Linked DNA regions of Homo sapiens: regions 1, 2 and 3 are each linked to region 4. Evidence: promoter capture Hi-C in 16 types of primary human blood cells and fetal thymus (Javierre and others, 2016). All regions are on one chromosome and are shown on one strand. Each heading gives the region's core, a stretch centred on a gene start or on the middle of the fragment in contact. The rest is flanking DNA. Distances are from core to core; before and after follow the strand shown.

Region 1 (2,756 bases), core at 84-2,583, 1.1 Mb before region 4:
TTTCTATTTGTACGATACATCCTTGAGAACGCAGCAAAAAAAAGGCTATACCAAAGGTTTCCCCTCCCACCCTGGGCAATATTTAAGCATCAAAACATGGCCTGTAACTGCTTCTCAGTGATAAATATATTTTTTATTGTATGACAGGAAGATTTTAGAATCTTAAAATTAGTTTGCCTTGGTGCAATATGTAAATGTAACCATTCTTTATCTCCAACCCTATGCTGGATAACTGTACCACTTAGCTTCTCCAGCAGCCAAGCATTATGGCTAAGTAGTTAAAGCTACTGGGGCAAAAAGGCTTGTGTTCCAATCACAGCTACTCCGCCTGCCAAACTATACACAAATTATTTGATCTCTTCAAAGCAAATTTAAAAATCATAATTAAATACGTAATTCAGAAGATTTTGTGGCTTGCCAGGTGCAGTGGCGTGCACCTGTAGTCCCAGCTACTTCAGAGGCTGCAGCAGGAAGACTGCTTGAGTCCAGAAATTTGACTCCAGTCTGCTCAACGTTGCAAGACCTCCATCTCAAAATAAGCAGCTTTTGTGATTTCAGTTAAATAAGTAATACATGCAAATTGCTTAAATAATAGCTATTTTCAAGAAGATAGCTTCTGTTCTTCATGGTGTAGTGGCATAACACTAAATTTGTAGTTAAAGGATTTTTCCAAATCAGTTCATTTTTTCTTTTTTGAGATGAGTTCTTGCTGTGTTGCCCAGGCTGGTTTCAAACTCCTCCCTCTCAGCCTCCCTAGTAGTTGGGATTACAGGAGCACACCACCATGCACAGCACAGATCAGTTCATTTTAAATGTAGTGTTTGGGGAAAGAGTGAAAGGAGTGTGAGAAATCTTAATTAAATTGCTCACTGAAGTTATGCAGTTTCTATTTTGCATTAAAAAAGCATGTCCACAATTAAATATTTCTTCCCTTTAAAGAAATCAGAAAGATATATGCAAAAGGTACCTAATACAAAGTGAAAGACTTAGAAGACAGATAGTAGAAAAGTATTCATCTCATTCTACAAATTAACTTTGATAGAATTGAAATTACAGTAATTGTGGCAGTACTGGCAAAGGATTTTACCTTTTCTGAACAATATGTTTTATTGTAGCATTGAATCAGTAGAGATTGTGGGGATGGGTTATGTTAAACCACAACCCAATAAAGAACTTGGAAGTAATTAGGGTGTTTAATTTTATTTTTATATTGTTTATTTTCTTGCCACTTCCTTCAGAACTCTGGGATGGATCCCATTTTGCCCTGGAGTTGTTCCCACACTGGCAGTGGGTTTGCCTAGCACACTGTATCACACAGAACAGACAAGGCTCCTAGGATTTGTGTTTCTCTTGCTTTGCTAGATTTTCAGGAATGTTAATGAGGGTGAGAGAACCATAGATTTTATATGGCCGTAAGTTCTTTTAGATTAAATACAATATTCTATTTTTTTATCTTTTATCCTCAAACTTTTATGTACTATTCTTTTATGTTTATTCTTATCAAATATCTTTTTGTAATTTTTTTTTTGGTCCTGTTTTATACCTTAATCTTTTTCTGTCTCAGCCCTTTTTTCACTTTCTCCCTGATTCAGCTGTATCCAGTGCTTGACTTCACTATAACATCTTTTGTCTCAGTATATGTAGACTGGTAAGGAAATATTCAACCTCAGTTCCTCCTTTAACATTTCATTCTTAGTTCTCAAAAATCTAAGTGACAAATGAATCTTTATTTTCAGTTTTTTTCCTACTACTTACTTTTCCTTTTTCTGTAGTGAATTTTATCAAGCTAACATTTATACCTATTCCATAGTTTATATTCCCTCTACCAATCCATCCCATCCCACCTTGGCTTACTTCTTGGTTTACATTGATCCAAGTAAGGATTCTCGTTTCTGTTTTAAAAGCATATTTCTATTTAGCCTCATCCCGAAACGAAATAAAACATTGACTACACTCAGTTGCCTAAGCTAGCTAAAAATAAATATTCCTTTGCATGCAAGGATCGTAACTAAAGTTTAAAGGGAGTCTTTGATATGAACACTGGAGTTAAGTGAAATATGTATCATTGAAAACTAACCTTCTTTACTTAATAGAAGCCTTTTAAAGTTTAGGTTTCTTACATACATATGAGAGAATATACATCTTGTTAAAGAGTTTAGTCAGAATTATCTTTAAAAATTCCATAACTCAGCTGGGCGCGGTGGCTCACGCCTGTAATCCCAGCACTTTCGGAGGCCGAGGTGGGCAGATTGCCTGAGGTCAGGAGTTCGAAACCAGCCTGACCAACATGTTGAAACCTTGTCTCTACTAAATATACAAAAATTACTCGGGCATGGTGGCGAGCACCTGTAATCTCAGCTACTTGGGAGGCTGAGGCAGGAGAATTGCTTGAACCCAGGAGATGGAGGTTGCAGTGAGCCAAGATCACGCCACTGCACTCCAGCCAGGACAACAAAAGCGAGACTCTGTCTCAAAAAAGGAAAAAAAAATTCTGTAACTCAATTTTATTTTGCTGACTTTAATTGCTTAAAATTTTTAAGAAAAAATATGGTTTCAAATGACAATTTTTATTTCTTTTCTGTATCTTTCCAATTTTTTATAAAAGGAATAAAATAATTTCACTTTTAGTATCAACTATAACAAAAGCAGGTGTTAAGGAAAATGTACATTTCTTTCTTTGAGAGGTTGATATCTAACATATCCTAGAATGGGAAACAAAAACATTTTTGATTATTTTTGCATCAATAATAAAGCCT
Region 2 (3,055 bases), core at 1-2,500, 1.2 Mb before region 4:
AATCATACTACTTGGTATTTATCCAAAGGAGATGAAAACTTATGTCCGCACAAAAAAACCTGCACACAGATATTTATAACAGCTTTTTTTCATCACACTGGGGTGAGGGATGTTGATAATGGGGAAGGGCTATGCTTGTGTCGGGGCAGAAAGTATATGGAAAATCTCTGGACATTCCTTTCCATTTTGCTGTGAATCTAAAACTGCCCTCAAAAAAAGTTTAAATAATTTTTTTAAAGCAGTACTGTATTGTGATGTTTAACTCAATTACTTATTACAAGAAAACTATTCAACTGGTCAAAACGTTATATATAAGAAGTTTCTGTTTGTTAAAAACATTGTTTCAAATATATTTAGGCTTTGACTTTTAAAAGTATACAGCAACATTCAAGATAACTAGACAGAATGCACTGCAACTTGGCAGGTTTTTAAATCCTTGGACTTACTGGCCTAAGGAAAGATGTGTAAACATCCATGATTCAGAAATACAGGGAGAAATTGGGGCAGCCAGACCTCATCCTCTTGCCCTAAAGGGAAAAGATATCTTTCTTGCGGTATCTAAGATATGAATCTTAGATAATATTCATGCATGGCTAGGAATTGGAATAATGGGAAAGTCTTAATTCATGGGAAATTTTCTAATAAAGTTCCACCTCCATTTCCAGCCATTCCTCTTTAACAAATACATTTAGTGAAAAATACTACCAGTTGGGGAGAAACCAAATGGGTATGTGTATATGTAGTGTTTCTCAGAGTGTGGACTTTAACCACGTTTAATTACATAAATTTACGAGGATCTGTTGAAAATGCAGGTTCCTGGGCTTCACTCCAGTTGCTCTGAAATGAAAGCTGTAGGAGTCGGTTGGTGAAACTACATTTTGTTTCTCAGGTGATTCTTGTGTACTCTAACTCATATATAGGGTGATGTTATTTATTTACTGGTTATTTATTTACCGGTTATTTATCGTTTGGCAAAAAAATCCAGCAAAGACTCACAAGTGACCTTTACACTTGACATAGGATTCTCTTCCGCTGCTGACGCTTTTTTTTTCTAAGAGGCGGGGACTTGGCTGGGCAGGGCTGGGGGAGGGCGCTAGGCGGGGCGGGCAGGGGCGGGGCAGAAGAGCCCTGGGCTGGGTGGGGCAGGGCGGAAGGGCCCTGGCCTTGTTGGGTGGAGGTGAAGAGTTAATGGCTCCGCGCGCAGGCACTGCCCTCTGAACTGGAACAAAATGCAACTTCCGGTTGGAGTCACTCGGCCAGGCGCCGGCGACCTGAGGGGAGAGGGAACGCAGCTGAAAGCGTGAACTGTGTGAGTAAGAAACTTTGTGAATTGGTGTGTCCGAATCCGTCAAGCACGACGTCGGAGAATTTGTATGCGTGAGCGAGAGGGACGCGCTGACAGTAGGGGCGCCGCAGGGAGAGAAGCCGAGGAGCAGCGGAGACAACCAATTTGCAGTTTGGGGAGGGATTTTGTGCGGGAGAAACCACGCGAGTCCTTCCCCCGGAGCGGACTCCTTGTGGGTTGGTTTCCGGGCCCGCGATGTCAGCATAGCATCGTCGGCCTCTGCCCCAACGGCTTCAAGGGAGGGACTCGTCCCGGCTGCTTTGCCCGGGAAATGGGGGTGGAAGGGCCTGCGGTGTCGAGGTGAGCAGTGGACCCTCCAGGAACATTCCCGACTTCCCTTCGGGAGAGAGACTGCCTCCTAGAATCAAGTAGTATCGTGGTTACTCTTTCGAAAACTTAATTGGTTCTTTCTGTTGTTTTCCCAAGGTGGTTGCACAATTCCCCTCTGCCTTCCTGTGGGGTGTCATCATAGCCTGGTCAATGAGAAGTTGGGTAACTTCCCAGAGGGTCACGGAGGGAGTGGGTGGCCAAGGCAGGAAGAACAGAAGCCAACCCCGCCCACAGTGGGAACCCAGGCGTTAGGTAGAGTCCTCACGCCGGTGTAAACTGACTAGCAACGAGTTACAGGCAAAAAAGCTGTGCTTTTCTAGAAGTAGAAAGGGGGAGGATAATCAAAGAAGAGCTGTGCCTTTATTGTTATGCTATAACGAGCAAAAGTAAAGCAGCCTTGCTATGTAAAGTGGTGTTTATCTCACCTCACAGGAGATGCTTTTGACAAGTTATAATAAGGGAGAGATGGTAGTAAAGGAAGTGAAGAAGCGACGTGAAATTGAAGGAAAAGAAAATGACCTGCCTTCTTACCGCGGTTGGAATACACACCCAAACGAGAGGTAGCAGAGAAGCAAGCAGTGCATTCTGTTAAAAATTATTGTGTCCTCATTTGAGAGAGGAGGGATCCTCAAATAATACAACTATGTGCAAAGCAGGAAGTGAAATCCTTCTCAGTCCTCTCCCCAGTTGTAATCCAAGCCTTCCACATCTTTCCTGTATGTGCATAACCATGTTATTTTGCTTTCTTATGAAAATGAGATTATGCATACTGTTCGATAATCTGTTTCAGATTAAATATATATATATGGTGAAAGTCTTGCCATATGTAGCTCTATTTTATTGTAATGTTGGCGTGGTACTGCATTGTGTAGATGTACCAAATTATAGTTAACTGTCACTTACTATGTCCTGTCCGTATATATTGCCCAGTATTCTTCAAAATTATCTGTTTCTCATTAGACTACAGATTTCATTAATCCTTTGTGAAATATATGGCAAATATTTTCAAGAATTATCAATGCTTTGGTTTAAAATGCCCAGGCTTTTTATCTCAGGTAAGAAGGTAGTCCCCACTCAAAAATTCTTAAAATCTTCTCCTATATTGCCTGTTAATTCTCTTTTTATGATTTACTCATTAAAACATCTGAAAATGATTTTTGTATGCTAAGATAAGGATTTAATTTTTTTCTTTGTTTTTATGACTAGGCAGCCATTTTTTCCTGAAATCATTTGTTGAAATCATTTCTCTCCCAACTGACTAGAAATACCTCCTTAATATAGTAAATTCTCAAGTGTACATGCATCTTTTCTTTAGACTCATCTGTTGCTTTGATCTTTTTGTCTCTTCCTTTAAAAATACCAATCTGCTTTGATATTACG
Region 3 (2,803 bases), core at 207-2,706, 1.1 Mb before region 4:
AGCCAGGGGTGAAAAGAGTGACAGGGCCACAAAGGCCAAGAAGGGCTCCAGGACTGAGCGCAGATCTCCTGCCCTGCCCGAGCGTGGCCGCCACCCCGAGGCCTCCAGCCGCCCCCAACCCGCCCTGCAGTGGCCGCGCCCCGCTGGCCTGCGGCGAGTCGGCGAGGTCAGCGCCCCCCGCCACGCCTCGCGCGCTGCGGCTCTTAGACCCCTGGAGCCCCTTTTTTGCCAGAGCTACCGGTCCACGGTTTAAATGATCGCAGCGAAGATACATAAAGGGCCTTAGCATTAGCTGTGCTTCCAAGGCCTGACCTCCTGACCCCAAGACTAGATTAAGGGGCCGTCTGGGCCTCGAGAGTTCCCTCGAAAGACCGTCGCGGGGAGAGAAGGGCCTGGAAAGAAGCGGGCCGCGCTCCCCCCTGCCGCGAAGACTGTGGGGCAGATGGGGGCAGGACCTGATCTGGAGGCCCAGCTCCCCGCCTGGCCGCTCTGTTCTATACTCTGGCCCGAGACAAGCTAGTCAAAAACAGCAGCGCCCTGGCCGCCCCTCCGACAAAGAGCCCATCGGAACCCGAGTCTGCTGAAAAAAGCCTTTCATACCTGTTGATGCAGGCGGGGACCTGAGATTTCATACAACCTCCTGTTACTTTTTGACCGTAAAAGCTGATTGTTGCACTTAAAAGGCACTTTTATTCCTACCATTAAAATATTTTTACTGTTACGGGTTTACATAAACTACCCTTATAAACATCATAAAACTTCCTTCCCCGTAAGCCATAGATGGACCTCCAGAGTAACTAAAAACCTGTGCAGTGTAATTGTTTCTTCTGCTGACCCCTACCTTTGCATAACTTTATACACACCATTGTTCCTTTTTAAAAAATCAATTTAAAATAAGGTTTGCTAAAGCTCAGTCATATATACACAAAGGTTTCATTTATATTATTCTGCTTTGTAATATTTCATGATAAAAGTACACAAAAATGAAATTAAAATGAGTAAATTTTGGTATTTTTATACCATCCTCATTGATCCTAGTCATGTGAAAAACTACACAAGTGCAGAGTGAATCATTTTTCCTTTTAGAATATGCCCAGGCATACCAATAGAATAGCTGAATGCAAACTTCAGATCTACTAAAATCATACAGAACGTTTTAAAGTTTTTAAGTTGAAAAATCTTAGAAGAGTTACATAAAGGATTTTGTGTAAGTAAATGTTAATGCTTTCTGCTTTCCACTCTTTGGAAAACCACTAAGCAGGCCTCTGCCCTTGGCATATACAGACTTCTTGATGCTACAGTATTAGCTGGCATTTGGAAAATTCCCTTGTGTCTGAATCTGTTAAAATAGCAACCTATCTAACAGCAAAACAAATTTTAACTTTATATTTATTCATGTAAACGTGGAGATTCAGATGTTCCATCAGCATCAAAATTAAGCAATTTATTAACTATTCACCAGCCTTTGCTTCATTAACCAATTCTGTAGAAGCAATGTCTCTCTAAAGCTGTGAATCTACAGAGCTCAAACAAATTTAGTTCAATCCCATGTTGTTATGTATCTCACCAAATTATTTATCTTCCAATAACTTGGTTTATACAGGCTTAGTGTAATTTCCTCTCAGTATACAGACCTCACAAATTTGCATGACTGTTTTAACGGTGTATTTACAGATAAGTTTTTATTTGCACATAAGGACAAAAAGGTGAAGTGAAATTTGGTCCCAATGGAAACCTGTTAGGTTCCCTGAACATATGGCTCATTGGGCTGTTACTTCCTTTTTGAGATCATTTTCCAAGATTTTTTAATATATACATCAATTTGACACCAGTTATAAAGAAAATATATTGGCTTTGAAGATTCCTCCACCTGGGGCATATCTCTTAATAACACACCATGTAGTCAGGTGTACCTCTGAATATACAGGTTTCCAGTCTCTGAAAACGGCATATTTTGAAATCAGTCAGAGCTGCCAGTTGATTTACACTGTCTTTGAAATTAAGTAGTTCTTTGGATTCTTAGAATGCCACATTGATTTGATTAATACAGTTTAGGGGTGACTAAAACTCTTTTTTGGAAGGCTGTGCATTTGGAATCCACAGTATTACAATGATTTCTCTCAGCAGATACAAGTGATGTAAGTCTCATTTGTTGAAAGTGTGTGGTGCCAGCTTAAGACTTAAGGGGAAAATCACAGCACTTTGAAAAAGATGTAAATGTTCAATTGGTAAAAAAGGGGAAAAAACCGTGCTAAAACATGTGCCTATTTCCATTATGCTTAATTTACTATTCAAAACAAGTTTTTCCTAATAAGCTCTATTGTTTCTTTCTGTTTTGTAAAATTTAATATGTGTGAGACAAAAACCAGATTCAGAATGTGAATGAAGTCTGTTTAGCGAAAGATTGTGGGAGCTTACAGTTCAAGAAGGCCTCAAATTAAAAGAAACATCATCTTCTATCACCAAAAAGATACAAAGAAGCAAGTTTCTTGGGTCATTTCTAGGACCAGTTCCTAGATTGCCAACTTCCTCCATCCTCAGAGCTCCTCATGGATGAATTCACACACTTTAAAGTGCACCAAGCACTAGAATATTCAGAATGATTATGCCACGTTTATTTACTGCATAGCTGTAGCTTTCATCTTATTGTAGTCCTCTTTTCTCTGAAGCATCAATCCCCTAATAGGACTGAAGTAAGTTCTCAAACATGTTATCCCCTTGTCCTGACTATAGAGGGTTATGTCTATCTCAAAATCACTCACACATTTTCAGAGAATCTGTACCTGATTATGCAACCCTTTGA
Region 4 (2,852 bases), core at 345-2,844:
AAAGTGTAATGTAGGGCAAAGATTGGAAAACTTTTTCTCTAAAATGCCAGATAATAAATATTTTTGGCTTTAAGGGCACACAGTCTCCATCCAATTGCCTTTGGAGTAGAAAAGCAGCCACAAGCAATATGTAAACAAACGAGCATGACTGTGTTCCAATAAAACTTTATGAACACTGAAAATTAAAAATTGAAAAATCTGAAGACCATTCTTAGCCTGTGGGCCTGAAAAAAACAGTAGCAGGCTTGATTTAGCCCATGGGCCGTAGTTTACTAACCCCTGCTCCATGGAACTACATTAAATAAGAAAAACATTCAACACTATCACAAGCTAAATTCTTAGCTCTGCCACTGTTTTTCCTGGGAGACCTTGGACAAATTATTTAACCTGCCTCAGGTTTCTCATCTGTAAAATGGAGTTAATAACATTAGGAGCCTCAGTGGGTTACTCTGAACATGAACTGTAGTAATACATTTTGAAAATGATACCAACTGCACATAGTAAGTGTTCAATAAAAGTTACCTGTTAATACACATTACGATTCTAGAGTTAACTCCTTTTTACTTCAGTGAAAACATTAGAAAAGTAGTTCTTTTGTGTTTAAATTTTTAAAATTGTCTTAAAGTGCCTAGATGTTGTCTTCTCAAAGGAAGAAACTAGATTTGCCCAAAGAGGTCAAGCACATTTGGAAAGGGGCAAACGCACAAGGAAGCCTGCTTTGCAAAATCTGCCTAAAAGGCTAGCTCCATCTGAACAGACACCTACCCGGTTTCTGTCTTCAATTGTCAACAGTTCCTCCTCCATGCACTTATCCAAGACGTCTCTAACTAGAAGCTTGTCCACCAGAGTGGGCTGAAGGAGGTTCAGCAGTTGGAGATATTCATCATGAGCGTTCTCAAACGATGGAGAGGGCAAGTCCGTGAGCTCAGGGTTCATGTAGCGGGCGGCCAGAGGGCTGCCGGTTCTCCGGAGGGCCTCCACGAATTCCCGAGTCCAACCAAGGTGCCAGACTCCCTTCTCCAAGGTGCTCAGCAGCAGTTCAACTGCCTGCATGTTCCCGGAGGTGGCGACTGTCCTCTGAATCTGCTCCTTCACCTCTGCAGGCAGAAAGGTCAGGTAGTCCAGCACAGGCTCCACCTGGATGTACATTTTCACCCTGGCCCTGAAGCACGAGATGAGATAGCGGAAATTCTCGTCTGTGGAATACCCATTCGACATCTTTCTTTCTCAGAGAAGGGAGAGGGTTCTCCCAAGCAGATGGTGCTGTTGTCTGCGGGACAGGTGAAATGTGCGTGCCGCTGTCCGCTGCCCACTTAGAGAAGCAGGGTCTACCGCTCTGTGCCTGACAATGACGAGGTTGTCCACAGGGCTCTCAGGCCGGCGCGCGGGGCTGCACTCGCACCTGGGCAGGTGGGCAGGCGGGCAGGTGGGCAGCGGGGCGGCGCGCGGGGCCGCGGCAGGCAGGTGCGGCCGGCAGGCGCGGCACTTTGGACTCTGCGGTGTGCGCCTGGGGTCCCGGACCGGGGCGATCCTGCTGCACACTCGGGTAGGAGCTTTGAGTCCAGCTTTCTGTCAGGCAGTTCTTACAGAGTTTGCCTGACTTTGGTTTCTGTTTCGATTCTCTTCTCAGGACTTTGTAAACGTAATCTGCCTGGCGGGGAGGGAGTTTCCTCAGGGAGACGCCACCTTTTGGTCGGGGCGGGTGAAGAGAGGAGGCCTTTGGTTAAGGACACCGCGGGAAACAGAAAAGGAAAGCGAATTCTCTCTGACACCAAGACCAACGCTCTAGCAAAGCTCCTCCGGCGGATATTTTGTTTTCCCAGCAGGTTCTGCCTTAACAATAAGGTCCTTTGTAGGCCAAAATGTGCAGGGCATAAAAGCATGTGATTTGGGACTTTCCAAAGGGGAAGTGAACAGAAACTGCCACAGACCCGGACGTGAACAGGGAGTTACCCTCGGCTGGTGAATGTAGGCAGGCCTGGCTGAGGGTGGTGAGACTGCGAGGGACAGGTGAGAGATGAAGCTCAGAAGACATCTTTGCAGAGATGTGGAGAAGACAGGAGGAAGTCCTTCCTAAAATAAACCTGACCTCCTGTGGGTTCCCAAACACTAACTTGTTTCCCTGGGAATTTGGAGGTGGGTTCGAAAAAGTGAGTAACAATAAACAGTTAACTTTACTGCCTCATATTTAGATTGCTGGTATTTATGCAGCTTTGACCAGGACCTGGTAACAGATGTGGATGGACTTGAACCACCAACTCAGCTTAGAAGGAAGCCAAGACTTAAAGTTTCCTAGATCCCAGCTTGTAAGTTCCCTATATTCTTTAATATACAACTTTCCTTTAATAAAACAAAACAAAAAAATCCCCCAACAACTTATTTTTGATATAGCTGCCATTCTTTTCTTGGATTCAATACAGCAAGTTTTGGCTGGAGCAGCTAGGAACTTAATTAGCAACTAATGTACCAACTTGTAGTAAACATCAACATTTGTCTATGTCATGAGAGAAAAAAAACATATTCACACTGAAAAATGGCAGCTTCATTTTGGTACAGAAGCCACATAAATGTGAGTCCTTAAGGTTACTACTCATTCTGAAGGCATTCTGTAGCCACATGTGACTGTGGGTGGTAGGCACATACGCACCATAACTAGAATCTCATGGTCCAGAATTATATAAAGGATGGAGAGATCATTTAGGTTATCAAAGAGACATATTTAGGAAAAATAATCTGTTAGCAAAGTACATTCAATAAAGTCTGTGTAGGCCAGGAAAACCTGATAGTGCTTTGAACAGGATAATAGAAGTACAGAGTCTTGGTGAGTGTTTACTAGGGGCATACAAAATATC

Evidence for each region. The method cuts DNA at HindIII sites, captures the fragments that hold promoters and counts their contacts. A CHiCAGO score of 5 or more calls a contact.
Region 1: a fragment that was not itself captured here is called in contact with the fragment with the promoter of IFIH1 in region 4 in 1 of 17 cell types (fetal thymus); the score reaches 5.2 in fetal thymus.
Region 2: the fragment with the promoter of TANK here is called in contact with the fragment with the promoter of IFIH1 in region 4 in 1 of 17 cell types (non-activated CD4 T cells); the score reaches 5.1 in non-activated CD4 T cells.
Region 3: a contact is called between a fragment that was not itself captured here and the fragment with the promoter of IFIH1 in region 4, in 5 of 17 cell types (activated CD4 T cells, erythroblasts, non-activated CD4 T cells and 2 more). The highest score is 8.0, in activated CD4 T cells.

What each region holds. Positions count from the first base shown.
Region 1 is chr2:161,218,132-161,220,887 of GRCh38, forward strand. The region is part of intron 4 of TANK (TRAF family member associated NFKB activator); the gene reads left to right. Among named protein-coding and RNA genes, the nearest start is that of LINC01806, 25 kb to the right of the region's middle. The HindIII fragment of the contact is 3,065 bases long and covers 1-2,756 here.
Region 2 is chr2:161,159,178-161,162,232 of GRCh38, forward strand. It overlaps TANK (TRAF family member associated NFKB activator), which reads left to right and starts at 1,251. Exons shown (of 8, transcript NM_001199135.3): 1 at 1,251-1,309. TANK-AS1 (TANK antisense RNA 1) reads right to left here and starts at 1,113. Exons shown (of 3, transcript NR_187173.1): 1 at 955-1,113; 2 at 1-59. RefSeq lists an enhancer at 961-1,724. The HindIII fragment of the contact is 6,780 bases long and covers 1-3,055 here.
Region 3 is chr2:161,239,258-161,242,060 of GRCh38, forward strand. All of the region lies in intron 3 of PSMD14-DT (PSMD14 divergent transcript), which reads right to left. Among named protein-coding and RNA genes, the nearest start is that of LINC01806, 4.1 kb to the right of the region's middle. RefSeq lists a silencer at 1-44. The HindIII fragment of the contact is 5,710 bases long and covers 1-2,803 here.
Region 4 is chr2:162,317,090-162,319,941 of GRCh38, forward strand. IFIH1 (interferon induced with helicase C domain 1) reads right to left here and starts at 1,595. Exons shown (of 16, transcript NM_022168.4): 1 at 766-1,595. The coding sequence starts at 1,218. It also overlaps a transcript of GCA not described here. RefSeq lists a silencer at 1,390-1,479 and enhancers at 1,510-2,059, 1,628-2,827. The HindIII fragment of the contact is 6,386 bases long and covers 833-2,852 here.